Regions from separate parts of the Homo sapiens genome. Here regions 2, 3, 4, 5, 6 and 7 are each linked to region 1. Evidence: promoter capture Hi-C in 16 types of primary human blood cells and fetal thymus (Javierre and others, 2016). All regions are on one chromosome and are shown on one strand. The core of a region is centred on a gene start or on the middle of the fragment in contact, and the rest is flanking DNA. Distances in the headings are between cores, read along the strand shown.

Region 1 (2,820 bases), core at 132-2,631:
GGGCGTGGCGGCGCATGCCTGTAATCCCAGCTACTCGGGAGGCTGAGGCAGGAGAATCGCTTGAACCCGGGAGGTGGAGGTTGCGGTGAGCCGAGATCTCGCCATTGCACTCCAGCCTGGGCAACAAGTGCGACACTCCATCTAAAAAAATAAATAAATAAAAACTAAAAAATTATAATAGGCGCCTAAAAATATAGTTTAAAATGCTCCTTTTAATTCGGCATGAACCTGTTCCGCCAAAAGATGGCCTGTTGCTGGGAAAAATTAAAACAAACTAGAAAACATAAACGGTTCAAAAAGCCCTCCACACGCAAAAGTATAAAAAGGCGGGAATTTCCTCATTTCAAATTTTGGTTAGAAATTAGAGTGTCATCAGTTGCCCTCCAGGGAGCGCTCTGAGACTCTGCTGCGAGTCATTTCAGTTAATAAAGCGGGAAAACGCTCGAACTTAACCTATAGCATTTTGGGGCCACCCCTCCAGAGCTTTCGAAAGGGCACGGAAGTCCCCGTCTAAACGCCCGCTGCAGGCGGCTGGTGGTCCAGGGAAGCGGCGTCGACTGCGTGCAAAACAACCGCCGCCAACGCAACTCCACACCTCCCAGACCCACACGTCAAAGAACGCGAACCCCGCGGCCCCAACTTCTGGCCTCTCCGCTCCGGCGCCTGCAGCCCCGCGGGGAAGGGGCGACGCGAGGGGGCGCAGGGACAGCCCCGCACCTGGGAGGCCCGAGGGGGCGCCCGGGAGGGAGGGGCTGCAAACGGCGGCGAGCGCGCGCGGCAACCGCCAAACGCCCGCCTTTGTAGCCCCGGCCCCGCGTCCTTACCCTGCCGACGGCTGCTCGGCTCCGGCCCGCGGCGGCGGCCCCAGAGCCGAGGACCGGGGTGGGCTCGCGCTCTTCGTCACTGGAGAAGTCCGGGGGCCCCTTGCTGTTGGTGCCGGCGGGGAGCGGCGGCCGGTTGCGAGCCGTGAGGTGCTGCAGGTAGAGCTGGACGTACACGTCTTTGCGCTGCTCCCCGGCCGGCAGCGTCACATTGTTGGCGACCAACTCACTCTTCAACTTGTCTTTTGTCAGGACCGAGGGGTCTTCCAGGAACTCCGGCATCTCGGGGATCTGCGAAGCCCCCTCCCCACAGCCTTTGCCGCCGCCGCTCACGCCGGCGCGCTTGCTCCTGGCCGGGGACCGCGCTGCCGCCTCCGAGCCTCACGGCTCCTGCCCGGGAAGAGCGCTGCGGAGCGGAACAAAAACTCGCGGACACAAAGCCAAGCCAGACCCGGACACAAAAGACCCCAGAGCCGAACTACGAACCAACTGCGGCCAAGCTGGAAGCTCGCACCAACCCCAGCCCACACACTACAGGCAGGAGGCGAGCAGCCTGCTTCGCCCACGCCCCAAGAACGCGCGCCGCCATTGGCGGGCGACGGGAGGAAGCGCGGCGGTGATTGGCGAGACGGCTCGCGCGGGTTCCATTAGCCGCCGCGCTGAGCGAGAGGAGGTAGAAACGCAGTTTAAAAGGCGCTGGGGCGGGAGCCGAGGCTCCCGGCCCGCTTCTGTTTTCGTTTTCTCCACCCTTCCCCTTAGACGCCGATAAGGGACAGGTCGTACTGCTTTTGTGCGCCGTTTCCTCTCCCTCCCCCAGCTTGAGAAGCAGCTTTCGTCTCTGGGGTCGATCGCCTACGAACGCGCCGAATTCCACGCCAGTGTGAGGACCCTTGGCTGGGCCTTTCTTCCTCCCGGGACACTGAAGCTCCAAGAGTAGCCGCAGCCTTGCCTTCCCCAAACGCTAGCCCTGAAGGGGAAGAAAAGAAGCGAGGCTTGTCTGCAGGCACTCATATTCCTTGATTTGATTTACTTTGGGAGGGGGAGGGCGGGGAGTTACCCCTCTCCTCGCGAACGCTTCTTTTGTTCCAGAAACCCAGGGGAAGCCAGACCTCTACAATCGGGCACTTAAATTACCCTTGAATTTGTGACAAAAGTGTACTATACCATTCACTTCTTAGTGTCATAGTTGGGGCATGTCTAAATTGTTTAATTTGAACAGTGCGTTCAGACGCAAGACAAATTCGCGCTTGCATTTTTGTTGAAACCGTCTCTGGCTTTGGATCCCACCACCCGCAAGAATCCTAAACCTAACGTTTGATAACAAAACGAAGGAGAACCCTTGGGAACCCCCTCAATGGTCAATTTAAAATAACAGATGGTGCATAATCCTAAAGGAAGACTAGTGACCTATAATTAGGCCTAGAACCCTAATCAAACCCGTATTACCGATCCAAATTAAAACCTGGTAGAATCTAATACATTGACTGCAATTAAAATGTTTGCCTGGAAATTAGTATCACTGATGACAAATATTTGTATTTCTGATGAATATGTATGTTTAAAGATGCTTTCTTTCTAGAAAGGAAAGGAGACCTTGGATGTAGGGTGTGTTAATCATTTCCCCAGAATCTGAGCTCCAAACTATGTTTTAGAAACTGGTTAAATTTTTTTTAAATGTTTGCCTGCTTTCTACATTGCTAGGTTAGAATACATTTAAAACAAACGCCTTCACTAAAAATGTTTCCTATGATTTAAGCGACTTACTTTTATTCAAATTGCGATATTATTTCTTTTAGTGATAATTATTTTCCTAGAGGTAACTAATTCCTTTATAAAAATCTCAGTATTCACATACATTTAAGCAATGGTATTAAGCTCAATAATGCAAATTAAAAATCAGGTTTTAATTAGCAAGTTGTTAGGTAGGTTTTTATGATCCCTTGTAAAAGTTGCTTGGTTTTTTGTCCTCACAGCTTCCCTGGACACATAGGCAAATGTT
Region 2 (2,820 bases), core at 209-2,708, 4.1 Mb after region 1:
GCCTCAGCCTCCCGAGTAGCTGGGATTACAGGTGCGTGCCACCATGCCCGGCTAATTTTTTTATTTTAGTAGAGATGGGGTTTCACCATGTTGGCCAGGCTGGTCTCAAACTCCCGACCTCAGGTGATCCGCCCACCTCGGCCTCCCAAAGTGCTGGGATTACAGGTGTGAGCCACCGCACCAGGCCAGAATGCTTTAAATTATAAGTGTCACACAGGACTCTCCTGAGAGTTGCAAATGGTTTTGAGTTGTCCTTTGGTTATTTAGGACAGAGTATGCTGGGTATTCCCCTTACTTTGAGTGTTTTCTTTCCAGATCAGATGAAGTGCGCGGACTGTATTTAGAACATTCTCAAATAATAGTGAAATACAATTTAGAATTCCATGCAGCACTGGGAGAATGAAACACTGATTATTCACAGGTAGTTTTTTTTTTTTTCTTTTTTTGAGACAGAGTTTCATTCTTGTCGCTCAGGCTGGAGTGCAGTGGTGGGATCTCAGCTCACTGCAACTTCCGCCTCCCAGTTTCAAGTGATTCTCTCCTCTCAGCCTCCCGAGTAGCTGGGGTTACAGGTGCATGCCACCATGCCCTGCTAATTTTTGTATTTTTAGTAGAGATGGGGTTTCACCATATTGCCCAGGCTGGTCACGAACTCCTGACTTCAGGCGATCTGCCCACCTTGACCTCCCAAAGTGCTGGGATTACAGGTGTGAGCCAGCGTGCCTGGCCTATTCACAGGTAGTTTTTAATCCTTGGTTTACCAGTCACCTCACTGTCTCCTCTTATTGAACCCTTAATGATAAAATTTTTATGGCAAGTTGTTAGTTTTTAGAGCACTTTTTGAATGATCTTTTCAATCAATAACCTTTCAAGTAAGCAAGTATGTGAGAAAATTTGAGACATGATGAGACTAAATGACTTCTTTGAAATCTATTAATAATGGGAATTGGAACTTGAAGTTTAATGTTCTTTATGTCAGATACCCTTATGTATTGCTAAAATCCATGGACTTAATTTTAGTTCTCTCCTCCTTTTTTCTATATGCTGATGTTGAAGTAATGAAATATTCAAAAGTTGGGCAAGATGGAGGAGACAAATCAAGAATGACTCGTATAATCCTTAGTAATCAGAAATCAGCATTATGTCATGGGATGTTCTAATTCAAGAAGCTTAGAGTGAAATCTTAACAGAAAGATTAGTGAATTTTAGTGAATTGTCAGAATTTCCCCACCCCCAGGTACTGTCTCTTTGCCTAAAAGTAGATGAGCTTGCTTTTAATTTTGTCATACATATTAGGTTCCATAAGTAAATTGCCCACATTGTTTAACCTATGTGCTTTTAGGGAATGTGTGTAAATCTGTGTAAAAAACTTCCTTTTAACCCAAGTTCATGTTTCTTGACTTAAGGTGAATTATTTGAAATCCTCTCACCTTGCCTTTTCAAGTGTATGTTCTTTATGGAAAAGGTGTCTCTGCCCAGATTGGTTTCTTCACTATCCCCTAAACCTGCTCTGTACTTTATCCTTTCCATATTAGTCTGCATATCTTTCTATCCCCCGTGACCTGATCTTATTCCCTTCTTTCTTAAAATCTAAATTGTACCTTTTCTATAAGGTTCAACTCCACCATGACCTCATACATACATACATAGGAATAGTATGTATTTGTGAGTTAAATTTATTTGATACTTATACTTTTTATTGTATTATTTTAGCTTTCTTGACTTCCTAACTAGATTGTAAGCTTATTAAGGGCAGGACTTCAGATCTCGATGAGCTGTATCCTTAGTCTTTTCCAAATACAAGTTGCTGAATAAATGTTTCTTAAAGATGACTGATATGATTAGGCTTTGTGTCCCCACCCAAATCTCACCTTGAATTATAATCCCCATAATCCCCATGTGTCAGGGAAGAGACCAGGTGGAGGGAATTGGATCATGGCGGCGGTTTCCCCCATACTGTTCCTCGTGACAGTGAGTTCTCATGAGATCTGGTGGTTTTATAAGTGTTTGGTAGTTCCTCCTGCATTCATTCTCCTTCCTGCTACCTTGTGAAGAAGGTGCCTTGCTTCCCCTTCACCTTCTGCCATGATTGTAAGTTTTCTGACGCCTCTCCAGCCATGTGGAACTGTGAATCAATTAAACCTCTTTCCTTTATAAATTACCCAATCTCAGGCAGTTCTTTATAGCAATATGAAAATGGACTAATACAATGACAGATAGGCATTTCTACTTTCCCCCACTTTTGTAAGTATCATGAAAGTAAGGTTGTTGAGAGAAGAGAGTAAGTGAAGGGGAAATGGCAACAGTAAACTATAAAAAAGATTGAAGAGTGGGAATTCACGGAATCAGAAATAAAGATTCTGTTCCTAGAAAGTGAGTATTTGAGAATTTCCCATGGCAATACCAGCAGTAAGGACTCTCAGGAATGCTGGCACTATTCTTCAGTGGGCTTGGGGAGTTTGGTCAATTTCCTGGTTCCTAGTAGAATATCAGTTTATTAATTATATTTTTTTCATCAGGACTGCCCTCTCTAGGTCATGGAGAGATCACTGACTGTCAAGTCTAGTACTATTTCTTTTTTCTTTTTTTTTTTTTTGAGATGGAGTTTTGCTCTGTCGCCCAGGCTGGAGCGTAGTGGTGCAATCTTTGTTCACTGCAACCTTGAACTCGTGGGTTCACGTGATTCTCCTGCCTCAGCCTCCCAAGTGGCTGGGGCTAACAGGTGCATGCCACCACACCTGGCTTTTTTTTTGTATTTTGAATAGAGACAGGGTTTCACCACATTGGCCAGGCTGGTCTCGGAACTCCTGGCCTCAAGTG
Region 3 (2,820 bases), core at 1-2,500, 3.5 Mb before region 1:
CTCAAACTTTTGTGCACCTCTGTCATCTTCGGACACCCCACCCACAGCTTAGGAAACAAGTTAATGACTATTCCCAGTCCTTCAAGAAATTCATATCACACAGCAAAGTGCCTCGTGATTATGTCCAAATATGAAAAGATTTGCACTGTGTACGTTCCTCCTGTATGAACCATGTTTGTTTTTACGTAACACAGGTGCCAGCTATTCAACAGAAAAGAACGGTGGCTTTTCTAAACCAATTTGTGGTGCACACTGTACAGTTCCTCAACCGCTTTTCTACAGTTTGTGAGGAGGTAGGTCCGGTGATACTGGTTTATAGAGTCGCCTGGAAATCACCTTTCACTGCTGAGACTGACAAATGGAGTAAAACAAGAATTACAGTCTTTATTCATGTACCGTGACCTCTCATCACCCAATTGTGTTAACACATCTTAGGTTCTCTTTTACTCTGTTAAAATCAATCCTGCACCCCTCCTCTACTGAGTTAGTGTTCTAGAGGTCCCTGTGAGATAGGTCAGTCAGGCTTATTGCGATTAAAGGGAACAATAGGAAATCTAATTTTTTTTTTTTTTTTTTTTTTTTTTGTGAGACAGGGTCTCACTCTGTCACCCAAGCTACAGTGCAGTGGCGCGATCTCGGCTCACTGCAACCTCCACCTCCCGGGTTCAAGCGATTCTCCTGCCTCAGCCTCCTGAGTAGCTGGGATTACAGGCATGCGCCACCATGCCTGGCTAATTTTTTATATTTAGTAGAAACGGGGTTCCAACATGTTGATCAAGCTGGTCTCGAATTCCTGACCTTGGGCGATCCACTAGCCTCGGCCTCCCAAAGTGCTGGGATTACAGGCGTGAGCCACCGCGCCCGGCTTCTAAAATTTCACAGTTGAAAACAGTTTTTATTTTGCAATTTGTCATTCGTTCCCGTACCCCAAAACCACATTGTTTAAATTTATTTTACATTCTGGATCTAAAAGATGGCTAGAGGAGATAGCCTAGAAACATAACTTTGGCATCAAATATGATTATAGAAATGAAAATATTTTCTGCAAATGACTTGTGATGTAAGGATTAAGTACCCAACTAGGGATTAGGTACCAGAACTGGCACAGCAGTGCGCACCTGTAATCCCAGCTACTCGGGAGGCAGAGGCAGGAGGATCACTTGCGCCCGGGAATTTGAGACAAGACTGGACAACAGAGAAACTCAGTGTTTTGTTTTTGTTTTTGTTTTAAAAAAGAGGATTAGGTACTAGATCCAGGATCCAGGGAATCCCTGTCTTTTAAAAAGCCAAAAGAGGATGGGGAAGACAATGGGAACCATGGGTTGAAATTGCATTTAAGGAAAGAGCAAAGTAAATTATGGGACTTAGATATTCACAAGTAAGTCTGTTGAACATTCTGTCTTATGTAAGGTATAGCCTTAGCAATTAGAGTTTTTGTTAAGTGTGTTACTACTATTAATAAAAATTGCATGGAGATGGGAAAACTATTTTTTACTTGTATGAAATTCCAGTTATTGTTTTGTCTAATTATCAACATTTCTTCTGCCTTCTAAGACAAAGTAAAATATAGTAATTGGTAGAGTAAGGGGCTTAATTCAATTTAGTTTTATATGTTAATGGCCAGAAACTAGGTGCTTGCTTCCAGTCAGTTTTATTTCGTTCCTACTATCTCTCTAAATAATTTAGGATATAAAATTGACTGAATAAAAACCAGTAAGCCAAGGTTTTCACCCTTCGATTTTTATACCAGGGCAAGATGGAGAAGTATCTGGAAAGGGACTGTCCCAGGATTACTAGCAGAAAGAAGCAAATACTCTTATCCCCATAGCCCTTATCATCAAGCTGAAAAATAAAGAACAAAGCAACAAGTAAACACACCTATGAAAGCAACTTGTTTGAGCTGTCCTGAAACAGGGATAGCCCTTCACCTTTGTAGTGCCTAATGGTTCTTGAATGAGAGCTGTTTACTGACAACTAGATCAAAGAAAACAATAGTCATCTCATTTATTGATAGATTATGATCAAAGCCTCATGAGTCACTCTTTAACCTCCTCCTGTTCCTGTCTCAACTTCTCTGCAGCTGTTCTGGCTGTATCTGTATTCTAGTACTTCTTTGAACTCTAGAGAAAAGTTTGTTCATCAAAACCTCATGAAGTTTAAAGGTAGTCTATTGCCTTTTGTCCTTTTTCAAAAATCTTATTTCTTTATTTAAATTGACAGGTAAAAATTGTATTTTTATGATGTACAACATGATGTTTTGATATATGAATACATTGTGGAATGGCCAAACCAAGCTATTTAACATAAGCAATGCCTCACGTACTTACTTTTTTTTGTGGTGAGCACACTTAAAATCGCCTCTCTTAGCAATTTTCAATACAATATATTGTTATTAACAGCAGTCACCATGACATGTAGGAGATCTCTTGAACTTATTCCTCCTGCCTAACTGAAATTTTGTATCCTTTAACCGCATCTCCCCAATCCTCTTAACCCCAAGCCCCTGCTAACCACCATTCTACTCAATATTTCTATGAGTTGTACTTTTTTATCCTCCATATATAAGTGAGATCATTCAGTATCTGTCTCTGTTTGACTGGCTTATTTCATTTAACACAATGTCTTCCAGTTCATTTATGTTGTCACAAATGACAGGATTTCATTCTTTTTTAAGGCTAAATAGTATTCCATTGTGTATATATACCACTTTTTTTAATCCATTCATCCATTGATGGACACTTTTGATTCCGTATCTTGGCTATTGTGAATAATGTTGCAGTGAACTTTCAAGTACAGATGTCTCTTGAATGTACTAATTTT
Region 4 (2,820 bases), core at 184-2,683, 3.5 Mb after region 1:
GGGCCTCATGGGAATCAAGAGCAATGGAAGGGTCAGGTGGCTGTTTTATACAGCAGTTAGAGAAAGCTTCTTTGAGAAAGTGACATTTGAGGAAAGACGTAGAAGCGGGGAGAAAGCGTTCCAGGCAGAGGGAACCACAGGTGCAAAGCCTGTATGTTTGAGATGTATTGCTTGGTCTGTTCAAAGAACAGCAGTATGGCCAGTTTGGCTGGAATGGAATGAGTGAGGGGAAGATGTTAAGAAACGAGGTAGGAGAAATAGCTAGGGCCCAAATCATGTAGATGTTGTAAGATGAAAGGTTCTTGTATCGGCTCGAACCCTGAGAGTGCATCAGCAGACAACATGGCAGTGTGGAGCAACACACTGTTTTAATGAGCGCCTGGGTGCAGGTGGGCTGATGCCTAAAATGGCGTTAGCACCAAATGAGGATGGGGCAGGGGTTTTATAGTCTCCTGTAAACAGGAAGTGTCTCAGTCTGATGTAACTGCTACATAGTACCTGGACGGCCTGCCCCTCAATCTTCAAGGGGGTATGTGTCTTTCGGCCAGCTCTCTTCCTGCTTCTGCTGTCTTGCTGACCCACGCTGCTGGCCCAAGCTTGGGACTGGGCCTGAGAAGGGAGGAGTTATTCATCTCTTCAAGCTTTCAGGCCTCAGGGAGAATCTTTCAGTAAGCCATGGTACATACTTCGGCTTTTTGTCTGAATTTATTTGGAAGTCACTGGAAGGTAAGATAGGGTGTGATCTGATTTACAGTTTTTTAACATTTGGAATAATCCCGAACTTTCAGAATCATTACTAATATTTTAATAAAAGTAAGTTGCCAAATTGATGCCCCATCACTCCTGAATACTTTAGTGTGTACGTCTTGCAAACAAGAACATTGTCCTACATAACCACAATATGACCATAAATATCAGGAAAGTAACAAAGATACACTATGAAAGGGAGGCAAAATTTTACCCTTATCCTCTTAGGGCTTTTTGGTTGGGCTTGAGAATTAAAGACATGTTAACAGGAGAAAAGCATACAAATTTATTTAATATAAGAGTTCCGTGATGTGGAGCCCTCATAAGGGATGAAGACCCAAAGATGCAGTTCATGTTGAACACTTAGATACTGAATTGGACAAGGAGTAGAACACTGAAAATGAGAAGACAAAGGGACTTGGGCTTGAGTAGGTTAATTGGGTGGAGAAGTGACTAAGAAGATAAAAGTTAATTTAACAACGTTTGTGCAGATTTCCCTTGACCTCAATTTCCTGTCCTTGATGTAGAATGATAGTTTCCTTCTGGTATAGGGAGGATATCTTTGATGTGGGAATTTTTTCTCCTGCTTTCAGAAAGAAAAAGGCCATATTATTCTTGTGCCTGCTGTTTTTCTTTACCTTTTTTTTTTTTTTTTTTTTTTTTTGAGACAATGTCCTGCCCTGTCACCCAGGCTGGAGTGCAGTGGTACAGTCTGCAGCCTCGACCTCCTGGGCTCAAATGATCCTCCTATCTCAGCCTCCCAAGTAGGTGGGATTACAGGCATGTGCCACTACACCTGGCGAATTTTTGTATTTTAAGTAGAGACGGGGTTTCATCATGTTGGCCAGGCTGGTCTTGAACTCCTGGCCTCAAGTGATCTGCCTACCTTGGCCTCCCAAAGTGCTGAGATTACAGGCATGAGCCACCACACCCAGCCGTGCCTGCTGTTGTTCAAGTGCCTTTAACTCAGCATAGTCCATATGCCAGAGCTGCATATTTTGGAGCAGCGTGTTCTGAACTTCAGCCACTCAGGTTTCGTCAGTTGTCCCAACAGTGTCCTTTATAGAGAGATCCAATCACACATTTCATATGGATCTCAAGTTCTTTAGTCTCCTTCACACTTGATTGGTTCCTCAACTTTTCTGTGATTTTCATGACCTTGACGCTTTTGAAAATTACTTGACAGTTATATTGTTGAAGGTCCCTCAGTGAGTTTGTTGAATGTTTCCTCATGACTAGGTTCAGGCTATGCTTCTGTGACATTCCTGTCACTGAAGCCATGTTTTTCTTGTTGCACTCTATTAAGTAGCAGCTGATTTGTTTTTGTCCTATTATTAATGAAAACCTCTATCACGTGATTAAGGGGTCTGCCGGTTTTCTCCATTCTAAAGTTACTAATTTTCCCTTTGAAATTAATTAGCATTTTGTGGGGAGACACTTTGAGGTTATGTAAGTATCCCCTTACTCATCAAAGCTTTAATTCATTATTTGTATCTGTATCAACTCCTATTTTAATCAATGGGTTATAATCCATTGCTTTAAATGGTTCTTTTATTGTTCAAATTGGGCTCAATTTGACTAGTTGGAACCCATTCAAGCTGCATTTGGAGTTCTTTGGAGGTTTTTAGAGGGGAGGGGTTCTCAGTTTTTAAAAATATTTTATTTGAGATAGGGTCTCACTCTGTCGCCCAGGCTGAGTGCACTGGTGCTTTCACAGCTCACTCCAGCCTCAACCTCCTGGGCTTAAGCCATCCTCCTGCCTCAGCCTCCCAAGTAGCTGGGACTACAGGGGTGCATCACCACAACCTGCTGGTTTTTTTTTAGGAGATAGGGGTCTCACAGTGTTGCCCAGGCTAAAATTTTATTTTTAATTGACAAATAATAATTGTATATATTTGTGGGGTACAATATGATGTTTTGATACATGTTTACATTGTGGAATGATTAAATCAAGCCAATTAGTAAATCAATTACCTCACATACTTATCATTTTTTTGTGGTAAAAACACTTAAAATTATTTTAGCAATTTCCAAATATACAGTGAATTATTATTTATTACAGTCACCATTCTG
Region 5 (2,820 bases), core at 157-2,656, 3.4 Mb after region 1:
GACGGGTTTTCGCCATGTTGGCCAGGCTGGCCTCAAACAACCGGGCTCAAGTGATCCGTCCGCCTCGGCCTCCCAACTTGCTGGGATTACAGGCGTGAGCTACCGTGCCCAGTCTCTAGTGATTATATTCTTGCCCTGTTTAGCCATTATGTCTCTTTACTCACAACAGTTTATAAGTGAAACTTTGCCTTACCATTTGCATGAGTCGGCCTCAGCTTGTCATTATATATAAAGCTTACTAATGTAAATGACGAGTTAATGGGTGCAGCACACCAACATGGCACATGTATACATATGTAACGAACCTGCACGTTGTGTACATGTACTCTAGAACTTAAAGTGTAATACAAAAAAAAAAAAGTTTAAATATGATTGGACTCTACCCCAGAGCCCAGTTTTCCAGAAATTAGAAACAGATATGCCTAAGACCCAGAGGGTTATTTATTACTCAAATCTAAAACGTTGACTCAAAACCTCCCCTAATGCCCACCTTTGGCAAACGATGCTTAAACCTTTGCACGTGGCTTCAAAAATTACCTGGCTGGGAACGCGTAGCTCTGGCGGGGCACTCTGCCTCCAAGCCAAAAGGGGGCAGTGGACTCACAGAGCCGCTGCTCGGCCCTCCGATCCCTCCACCCCACCCTGGGAACGTCACGACCTCCTCTCGCCGCTTCTCCCCGTTGCTAATGCGCAGGCGCTGGCGGGATAGCGCGCCGCCGAGCCGAGAAAGAGGTCACGAACTCTGACCCCCCAGAAATACCCAAACACAGAAAGCTCTCTCCGCCGTGAATCTCGATCCCACATCCCGTCGGCTTTCTTCAACCTCTCTTCCCGGAGCGCCCCCCAATCCACGAGTGGCAGCCGCGGGACTGTCGCGTCGGCGCCCGACGCCGGAGTCAGCAGGGCGCAAAAGCGCCGGTAAGAAACGCTGGGTGGGGACACCAGCGACCGCGTCGGGGGCGGGGGCCAGGGGGTGCCCTTCACCCCAACCGCCAACGGACGCGGTCCCAGCGCATCCCCCGGCCGGCGTCCTGCGGCCAGCGGAGCCGTTCAGTTTGGGAGCGCCGCTTGGGGCTGCTCGACTTCGGCTGGGAGCGCGGAGCTGCGGCGCCAAATGCGCGGGGCCCCGGGAGAGGCGGGGGCGACAGGGGCGGCGGGACGCGGGGCCGGACGGCGAGCGGCTTGGAGCACACAACCCCCTTTCCAGCTGCGCTTACCGCAGCGCCTCTGACCTTTAACCTGCAGGGAAAGCTTCCGCGGCGCTGCAGCTTTCCCCGCCCGGGAGAGCCGCGCGCAGCGCCGGGGCTTCCAGGGCGCACGGCTAACGCCGGCACGAGTGAGACGTGGGAGAGGCCGACCCTCGGCTAGTGGCCGCAAGTCCCGGCCTGCATCCCGTCACTAACTCCCGTGCTTTCACGGGACGGACAGAATGACTCCCCCCACTTTCACTTTTCTCTCACGGCAAATCTGGCCAGGGTCGTCGCTGCCTGTGGGCCTGGATCTTTTCAGAAGAAATGGAACGGCCCCAGGGTTCTCACTGCAGGGGGCATGTCCAAGCTTCCGATAGATAGCTCTTTTGTTAAGAAATAATTCTTCCAACTCGGGCAGATACCATTTTTGTGCAGTACGAATGTTGCCAGGTTGTCCCATAATCTTCAGTAAGTAGGTCAGCCTTTAAAAAAGTAACCGGAAAGCAAAAGCAGAAAGACCTAAAATTACGGCCTTTAGGGTTTAGTACCGCTAGAATTTGTAAATGGACCTTCGATTTTGAGCTTTTTTGAACCATTTCTGCTGTGTGGTTGGTGATACTCGATTTTTTTTTCTTTTTTTTTTTTTTTTTTTGAGAGGGAGAGGGAGTCTCACTGTCGCCAAGCTGGAGTGCGGTGGCGCGATCTCGGCTCACTGCAACCTCCGCCTCCAGGTTCAAGCGATTCTCCTGTCTCAGCCTCCCGAGTAGCTGGGATTACAGACACGAGCCACCACACCCAGCTAGTTTTTTTGTTTTTGTTTTTGTTTTTGTTTTTTGTATTTTTAGTAGAGGTGGGGTTTCACTATGTTGGCCAGGATGGTCTTGATACTCTGACCTCGTGATGTACCCGCCTCTGATCCACCCGCCTCGGCCTCCCAAAGTACTGGGATTACAGGCGTGAGCCACCGCGCCCGGCCGATGATTGTTTTTAAACTTTGCTTTAAGTCCAGTTAGTATATCTGAAAAAGCGATGTGTATTTCTATCATTAAAAGTGGGTCGCGGCTGGGCGCGGTGGCTCACACCTGTAATCCCAGCACTTTGGGAGGCTGAGGTGGGCGGATCATCTGAAGTCGGGAGTTCGAGACCAGCCTGACCAACATGGAGAAACCCCGTTTCTACTAAAAATACAAAATTAGTCGGGCGTGGTGGCGCACACCTGTAATCCCAGCAACTCCGGAGGCCGAGGCAGGAGAATTGCTTGAACCCGGGAGGCGGAGGTTGCAGTGAGCTGAGATCGCGCCATTGCACTCCAGCCTGGGCAAGAAGAGCGAAACTCCGTCTCAAAAAAAAAAAAAAAAGTGGGTTTTATGAAATGTTGCTAATCTTAGTTTTTCAAGGGGCATGTTAGTTTCTTCTAGGAAAGGTTTTTTTGTTTTGTTTTATAGAAATGGTGGGGGGCCTCATTTTGTTATCCAGACAGATCTCTGGCCTCAAGCTATCCTCCTGCCTCAGCCTGTTGAGTAGCTGGAATTACAGGCACCGCATCTTAAGGAAGGATTTTGAGGGAGCAAACATCCCCAAACACACACCGTCTGTGTGTCTGCCACACAATGTATAATCCCTACTCTTG
Region 6 (2,820 bases), core at 184-2,683, 3.3 Mb before region 1:
AGAGCAACAGAGCAACAGAGCAAACAGAATAAGGGGGGAAAATTACCAAGACAGAGACACAAATCAATGAATAGAAAACCACAGAACATTAGAGAGAATGACCCAAACAGGAAGCTGGGTTTTTTTTTTGTCTGTTTGGTGTGTTTTTTTTTTTTTTTTGTCTTTTTTTTTTTTTTTTTTGGAGACGGAGTCTCACTCTGTTGCCCAGGCTGGAATGCAGTGGTGCAATCTCAGCTCACTGCAACCTCTGCCTCCCAGGTTCAGGTGATTCTTCCGCCTCAGCCTCCTGAGTAGCTGGGACTACAGGCGCACACCACCATGCCCAGCACATTTTTTGTATTTTTAGTAGAGACAGGGCATCTCGATATATTTCCCAGGCTGGTCTTGAACTCATGACCTCAAGCAATCCTCCTGCCTTGGTGTCCCAAGGTTCTGGGACTACTGGGCCAGCCTTCTTTTCCAGATTCCATTGTGAGCCACCGTGCCTGGCAGAAGCTGGTTTTTGAAAAGATTATTTAGGCTGGGCACAATGGCTCATGCCTGTAATCCCAGCACTCTGGGAGGCCGAGATGGGTGGATTGCCTGAGCTCAGGAGTTCAAGACCAGCCTGGACAACATGGCGAAAACCCATCTCTACAAAAAATACAAAAATTAGCCAGGCATATTGGTGCACACCTGTAATCCCAGCTACTCCAGGGGCTGCAGTGGGAGGATCGCTTGAGCCCAGGAGGTCGAGGCTGCAGTAAGCCAAGATGGTATCACTGCACTCCAGCCAGGGTGACAGAGAGACCCTGTCTCTAAAAAAAGAAAAGGTTATTTAGGCAAAGGGAGAAAAGATACAAAGAAGTAGTAGACAAAATGAAGCAAACAAACAACCAGAGTCAATAATGATAGAAATAACAGAGGTTTTAAAACCAAGTTGACATTAGTATATTCCACTATATAAAAATGATCCCAAGCTAGAAAGTTTTCCAAATGAGCTCTACCTCAAAACATAGGGTTATTCTCTATATCCTTTAATAACACACTGTAATTCAATTCATCAAAACTTTATACAACTCTGTGATTGGAACTTTTTTTTTTTTGAAACAGAGTCCCTCTCTGTCGCCCAGGCTGGAGTGCAGTGGCGCAATCTCGGCTCGCTGCAATCTCTGCCTCCCAGGCTCAAGCAATTCTCCTGCTTCAGTCTCCCACATAGCTGAGATTACAAGCATACACCATCACACCTGGCTAATTTTTGTATTTTTAGTAGAAATGTGGTTTCGCCATGTTGGCCAGGCTGGTTTCGAACTCCTGGGCTCAAGTGATCCACCCTCCTTGGCCTACCAAAGTGCAGGCATTACAGGTGTGAGCCACCTCAGCCAATGGTTGGTACTTTTATCAGTGCAAAATATATTAATTCATGTAATAAATTTTTATCAATTAGTTTCTATTGGCAAGACACAATGCTAAGATTAGGGATACATTTCTGGATAAGATGGGTAAGTCTCTTGCCTTTATGTTGCTTATATTCCAGTGGATGAAATGTACAAAAAAACCCACAAGTAAATATCACATAAACAGAATAAAGTATGGTTGGGCCTGGTGCGGTGGCTTATGCCTGTAATCCTAGGATTTTGGGAGGCCAAGGTGGGCGGATCATCTGAGGTCGAGAGTTTGAGACCAGCCTGGCTAACATGGTAAAACCCCATTTCTACTAAAAATACTAAATTAACTGGGCGTGGTGGCACATTCCTGTAATCTCAGCTACTTGGGAGGCTGAGGCAGGAGAATTGCTTGAACGTGGGAGGTAGAGGTTGCAGTGAGCCAAGATTGTGCCATTGCACTCCAGCCTGGGTAACAGGGCGAGGCTTCATCTCAAAAAAAAAAAAAAAAAAAAAAAAAGGACAAAGTATGGTTACATTTATGTGAAAATTAGGTATTTTATATATATGTGATGTGTTTGAACTCACAAAAAAGTTAACAGTGAGCCATGTTATGTTTTGGCTCTTGAAATTCTTCCATCCAAGTACTAACCAGGCCCAAACCTGCTTAGCTTTAAGGAGATCAGATGAAATTGGGCGCCTTCAGGGTGGTATGGCCATAGATTTGGCTCTTGAAATTCTGTCAGAGGCTGGCTGCGGTGGCTCATGCCTGTAATCCCAGCACTTTGGGAGGCCGAGGCAGGCGGATTACCTGAAGCCAGAAGTTTGAGACCAGCCTGGCCAACATGGTGAAACCCCATTTCTACTAAAAATACAAAAATTAGCCAGGCATGGTGGCAGGTGCTTGTAATCCCAGACACTTGGGAAGCTGAGGCAGGAGAGTCACTTGAACCAAGGAGGCGGAGGTTGCAATGAGCAGAGACCATGCCAAAGCACTCCTGCCTGGGCATCAGAGTGAGACTCCATCTCAAAAAAAAAAAGAAAAAAAAAAAAAAGAAAAGGAAATTCTATCAGAAACAGTTAAATTACTTAATAATTTTGTTTGCACTAGTTTGCAAAAATTAAAAGCCATCCTCACTTTCTTTTTAAAATGTATTTAATTTTATTCCAGATTGAAGGGATACACATGCATGTTTGTTAAATGGGTATACTGAATACTAGTAAAGATTGAGCTTCTAGTGTACCCATTACCCAAATAGTGAACACTGTACCTGACAGGTAATTTTTCAAATCTCATCACCCCCCAACTGTCACCTTTTTTGGAGTCCCTGGTTTTAATTATTAATATTGCCATTTTTATGCCCATGTGTACCCGTTGTTTAGCTCCCACTTATAAATGAGAACATGCAGCATTTGATTTTCTGTTTCTGAGTTAGTTCACTTAGGATAATAGCAC
Region 7 (2,820 bases), core at 140-2,639, 3.2 Mb before region 1:
TCAACCTCCATGAGTCCTCCACAAGGCCTACACTCAAATGATTATAAAGGGACTTCACTATTTGGAGCAGAGAATAGAAAGTAATGTCACAGAATGTGCAATGTAATATTTATCCCACGTAGTATAAACTATAGATGGGAGTGAACTCCACTCTGCCCCCTATCCCTCCACACTCAGCCCAAAGGGTGCTTCTGATGAACAGCTATCCAAAGCCTATATTTACTCCTTATTTTGTACAAAGGTCAAATGTAATTATTGCTAATAAAATGTTGGGGTTTTTTTAATCCCTAGGTTGTGATGACAAAAAAATTATTGCCTTGATAACATTCCAGTTTGTTTTTCTTGAAAAAGTCGATGAAGCAAAGAGGAAGTTACCTCTTAACTCATCTTTGATCAGTGCTACCGGTCATTTCAAGATCACTAGCTCAACCTTCCAGAAACGAACGGTTACGAAAGTATTCAAAGGGCGTCTCGGGCTTGGCACAAGTCCCTGTGCCAGGCAGGACGGAGATGGGGGTGTTCAGTCCCCAGTGTGCAAAGCACCCGACCGCGGGTCCGTCTCACAGGTTGGCGCCGCATGGGATAGCGGCTGGGCAGGCGCCCTCCGGCCCGTCCGCGGCCGTGGGGAGGATCTGCGCGGACATAGGACCTGGGGCAGTGACCTTAACAGCCCCTCCGCTGCCCAGGGGAGGCTTGGGATGGTCACGGGATTGGGATAGTGGCGTGACAGTCTCCAGGCGGCCCAGGGCGGACACCGCCCGGGGCAGTGGCCAGTCCGCCCCTCCGGGGCCCGGGAGAGGCTCAGCCGCGCGTGGGTCCGCCCTTCCCCCGGCGCCTCCAGCGACCCGCCCGCAGCGCATCTGGGGCCCGGCTCGGGCGATCGGCCAGCCCTACCTCTTCGGTGGCCGTGGGACAGTAGGAGATGAGCACGAGCGTGGTGACCACGTTGACGGCGAGCCCCAGCAGGGTGATGGAGTTGGGGGCCATCCAGAGCGGGATCCACTGGAGCAGCCAGGTCCAGTAGAGCTGCAGCGGCGGCTCGAGCAGCGAGACGCCCGCCGCGCTGTAGCGGTGCTCCTCCAGTCGCCGCAGCTGCGCCGCGCTCAGCGGCTCGCTCAGCGCCCTCAGCCAGCGCGGCGCGGACCCGGCCCCGGCGCCTGCCGCCATGGCCGCCTGAGGGCCCCGCCGCCGCCACCGAGCGCAGCCCGCGCCTGGCGCTGGGGGCAGGGAGAGGTGGAGGGAGAGGCTGGCGGCCGGGTCCTGCGACTGCCGGGCTGGACTCACCGGTCGGGCCCGCACGGCGGAGGTCGAGGTCAGGCCGGCCTGCCCGGCTGCCGGGGCCCCAGCCCCAGAAGCTGTGGGGCCGCGGCTGCGGCTCGCGGGTGGGGCGGGGCCTCGGGGAGGGGTCCGGCTGGGGGCGGGGCGGAGGGGGTCCTGCTAGGGGCGGGGAGGCGGGTGCCGCGCTCGCGGGTCACCCTCGGCGCCCGCCAACGGCAACTTGTTATCGGCGATCAAGGTCCTTGACTCCCCAGGGGCCGGCTGCACTGCGCCTGAGGTCTGATGTCTTAACCCACGGCGTCGGATTACGCCCTGAGGTCGTCTCCTCGCGGGCTGCACCACGACCGAGCCGGTTCCTCTCCTAGGGGTCGGAACACGACTCCGGTCGCCCAGTGTTAGCCACTGCAGGACCACGCTGCCCGCAGAGCCTGGGGGTTTTCGTGTGAGAACACAGTTTTGCAGGGCTCGGGTCACGGGGGTGACGGCCCCATCTGTCCTGCTTGGTAAAACACACAAGCACAATTCTCCCTTTCTGTACGGAGGAAGGCGGCCCTGCCATGTATTCGCTCTAGAGACCCATCACTGCGGATTCAGAGACCAAGGTTTTGAAACTGAAAATCAGGGCTTAGAAACACTAACAAGGAGACCGAATGGCTGAAACCCCGATACCTATTTTCTTCAGCGCATTTGATACCAACAAGGGTGAATATTTTTACACATACTCTTCCCTGGAATAAAGGGCAGGAGTGTCCTCCCCCTGCAAGGGGGAACAGGCTGGCTTGCCACACGCATTGGTAGGTCACCGGCCCCTTATCTCACAGTGCACTCACTTGGACAGGGGACATCTGTCATAAACACGTTCTGTTGCACAACCTGAGACAGGCCTGTCACTTGCTTTGCTCTTCACTTCATGGCTCTGATCTGCACGCACTTTCTAAGGCCTAGGACAAGCCAGAAATTGCTTCCAAGACACTTGTGTGGCGCAACCTCTATCGGCAAGTGCAGTTTGCCTCACGGGCTTCGTCAAACACTTGGCACAGGGGTCCACGAACTGCTGCCTGTGTGCCAGACCCAGCCCACCACCTGTTTTCCTACAGCCCTCCAGCTAAGTATGGTTTTGACATTTTTAAATGATTGGAAAAAATCAAAAGAATACAATTTTGTGTTGTGAAATTATATGAAATTCAAAGTTCAGTGCCACGAATAAAGCCATGTTTATTCCTTACCTATTGTTTGGCTGCCTTCATGCTACAAGGGCAGCAGAATTCAGTTGTGACAGACCGTATGGCTGGCAAAGCCTGGACTATGTCCTACTAGGCCCTTTAAGGAAAAAACTGGCAACCACTGCCTTAGAGCAATGAGGGTCTCTACAGACCAAGCGTATATGTCTTAGGAATATGGATCTCCTCATCTTTAGTGTGAAAAACGATGCTGACAAATGCAGGAAAGGAAATGGAATGATGGAGATCCACTTTTAACAATGCTGGTTTATGTGCAGTGAACTTGACAGTAACTACTTTTTAATTTACCGATGCCATGAAC

The links. The method cuts DNA at HindIII sites, captures the fragments that hold promoters and counts their contacts. A CHiCAGO score of 5 or more calls a contact.
Region 2: a fragment that was not itself captured here is called in contact with the fragment with the promoter of TMPO in region 1 in 1 of 17 cell types (non-activated CD4 T cells); the score reaches 5.3 in non-activated CD4 T cells.
Region 3: a fragment that was not itself captured here is called in contact with the fragment with the promoter of TMPO in region 1 in 2 of 17 cell types (total CD8 T cells and fetal thymus); the score reaches 15.8 in total CD8 T cells.
Region 4: a fragment that was not itself captured here is called in contact with the fragment with the promoter of TMPO in region 1 in 1 of 17 cell types (non-activated CD4 T cells); the score reaches 7.8 in non-activated CD4 T cells.
Region 5: a contact is called between a fragment that was not itself captured here and the fragment with the promoter of TMPO in region 1, in 1 of 17 cell types (activated CD4 T cells). The highest score is 7.4, in activated CD4 T cells.
Region 6: a contact is called between a fragment that was not itself captured here and the fragment with the promoter of TMPO in region 1, in 1 of 17 cell types (non-activated CD4 T cells). The highest score is 5.2, in non-activated CD4 T cells.
Region 7: the fragment with the promoter of CHPT1 here is called in contact with the fragment with the promoter of TMPO in region 1 in 1 of 17 cell types (neutrophils); the score reaches 5.5 in neutrophils.

What each region holds. Positions count from the first base shown.
Region 1 is chr12:98,514,151-98,516,970 of GRCh38, reverse strand. TMPO (thymopoietin) reads right to left here and starts at 1,381. Exons shown (of 9, transcript NM_001032283.3): 1 at 825-1,381. The coding sequence starts at 1,103. TMPO-AS1 (TMPO antisense RNA 1) reads left to right here and starts at 745. Exons shown (of 2, transcript NR_027157.1): 1 at 745-980; 2 at 1,074-2,820. RefSeq lists a silencer at 622-891 and enhancers at 1,232-1,421, 1,682-1,761. The HindIII fragment of the contact is 4,246 bases long and covers 1-2,820 here.
Region 2 is chr12:94,455,824-94,458,643 of GRCh38, reverse strand. All of the region lies in intron 1 of CEP83 (centrosomal protein 83), which reads left to right. Among named protein-coding and RNA genes, the nearest start is that of CEP83, 2.6 kb to the left of the region's middle. RefSeq lists a silencer at 2,700-2,820. The HindIII fragment of the contact is 573 bases long and covers 1,172-1,744 here.
Region 3 is chr12:102,058,721-102,061,540 of GRCh38, reverse strand. It overlaps WASHC3 (WASH complex subunit 3), which reads left to right. Exons shown (of 7, transcript NM_016053.4): 2 at 195-293. Among named protein-coding and RNA genes, the nearest start is that of WASHC3, 1.9 kb to the left of the region's middle. The HindIII fragment of the contact is 3,599 bases long and covers 1-2,820 here.
Region 4 is chr12:94,986,383-94,989,202 of GRCh38, reverse strand. The region is part of intron 3 of NDUFA12 (NADH:ubiquinone oxidoreductase subunit A12); the gene reads left to right. Among named protein-coding and RNA genes, the nearest start is that of NDUFA12, 16 kb to the left of the region's middle. The HindIII fragment of the contact is 1,580 bases long and covers 644-2,223 here.
Region 5 is chr12:95,071,478-95,074,297 of GRCh38, reverse strand. NR2C1 (nuclear receptor subfamily 2 group C member 1) reads left to right here and starts at 680. Exons shown (of 14, transcript NM_003297.4): 1 at 680-918. RefSeq lists enhancers at 583-902, 593-1,093 and a silencer at 983-1,262. The HindIII fragment of the contact is 306 bases long and covers 1,254-1,559 here.
Region 6 is chr12:101,836,085-101,838,904 of GRCh38, reverse strand. It overlaps the pseudogene RNA5SP369. Among named protein-coding and RNA genes, the nearest start is that of GNPTAB, 6.5 kb to the right of the region's middle. The HindIII fragment of the contact is 4,973 bases long and covers 1-2,820 here.
Region 7 is chr12:101,696,209-101,699,028 of GRCh38, reverse strand. It overlaps CHPT1 (choline phosphotransferase 1), which reads right to left and starts at 1,389. Exons shown (of 9, transcript NM_020244.3): 1 at 895-1,389. The coding sequence starts at 1,167. RefSeq lists silencers at 656-845, 1,106-1,445 and an enhancer at 1,666-1,915. The HindIII fragment of the contact is 18,657 bases long and covers 1-2,820 here.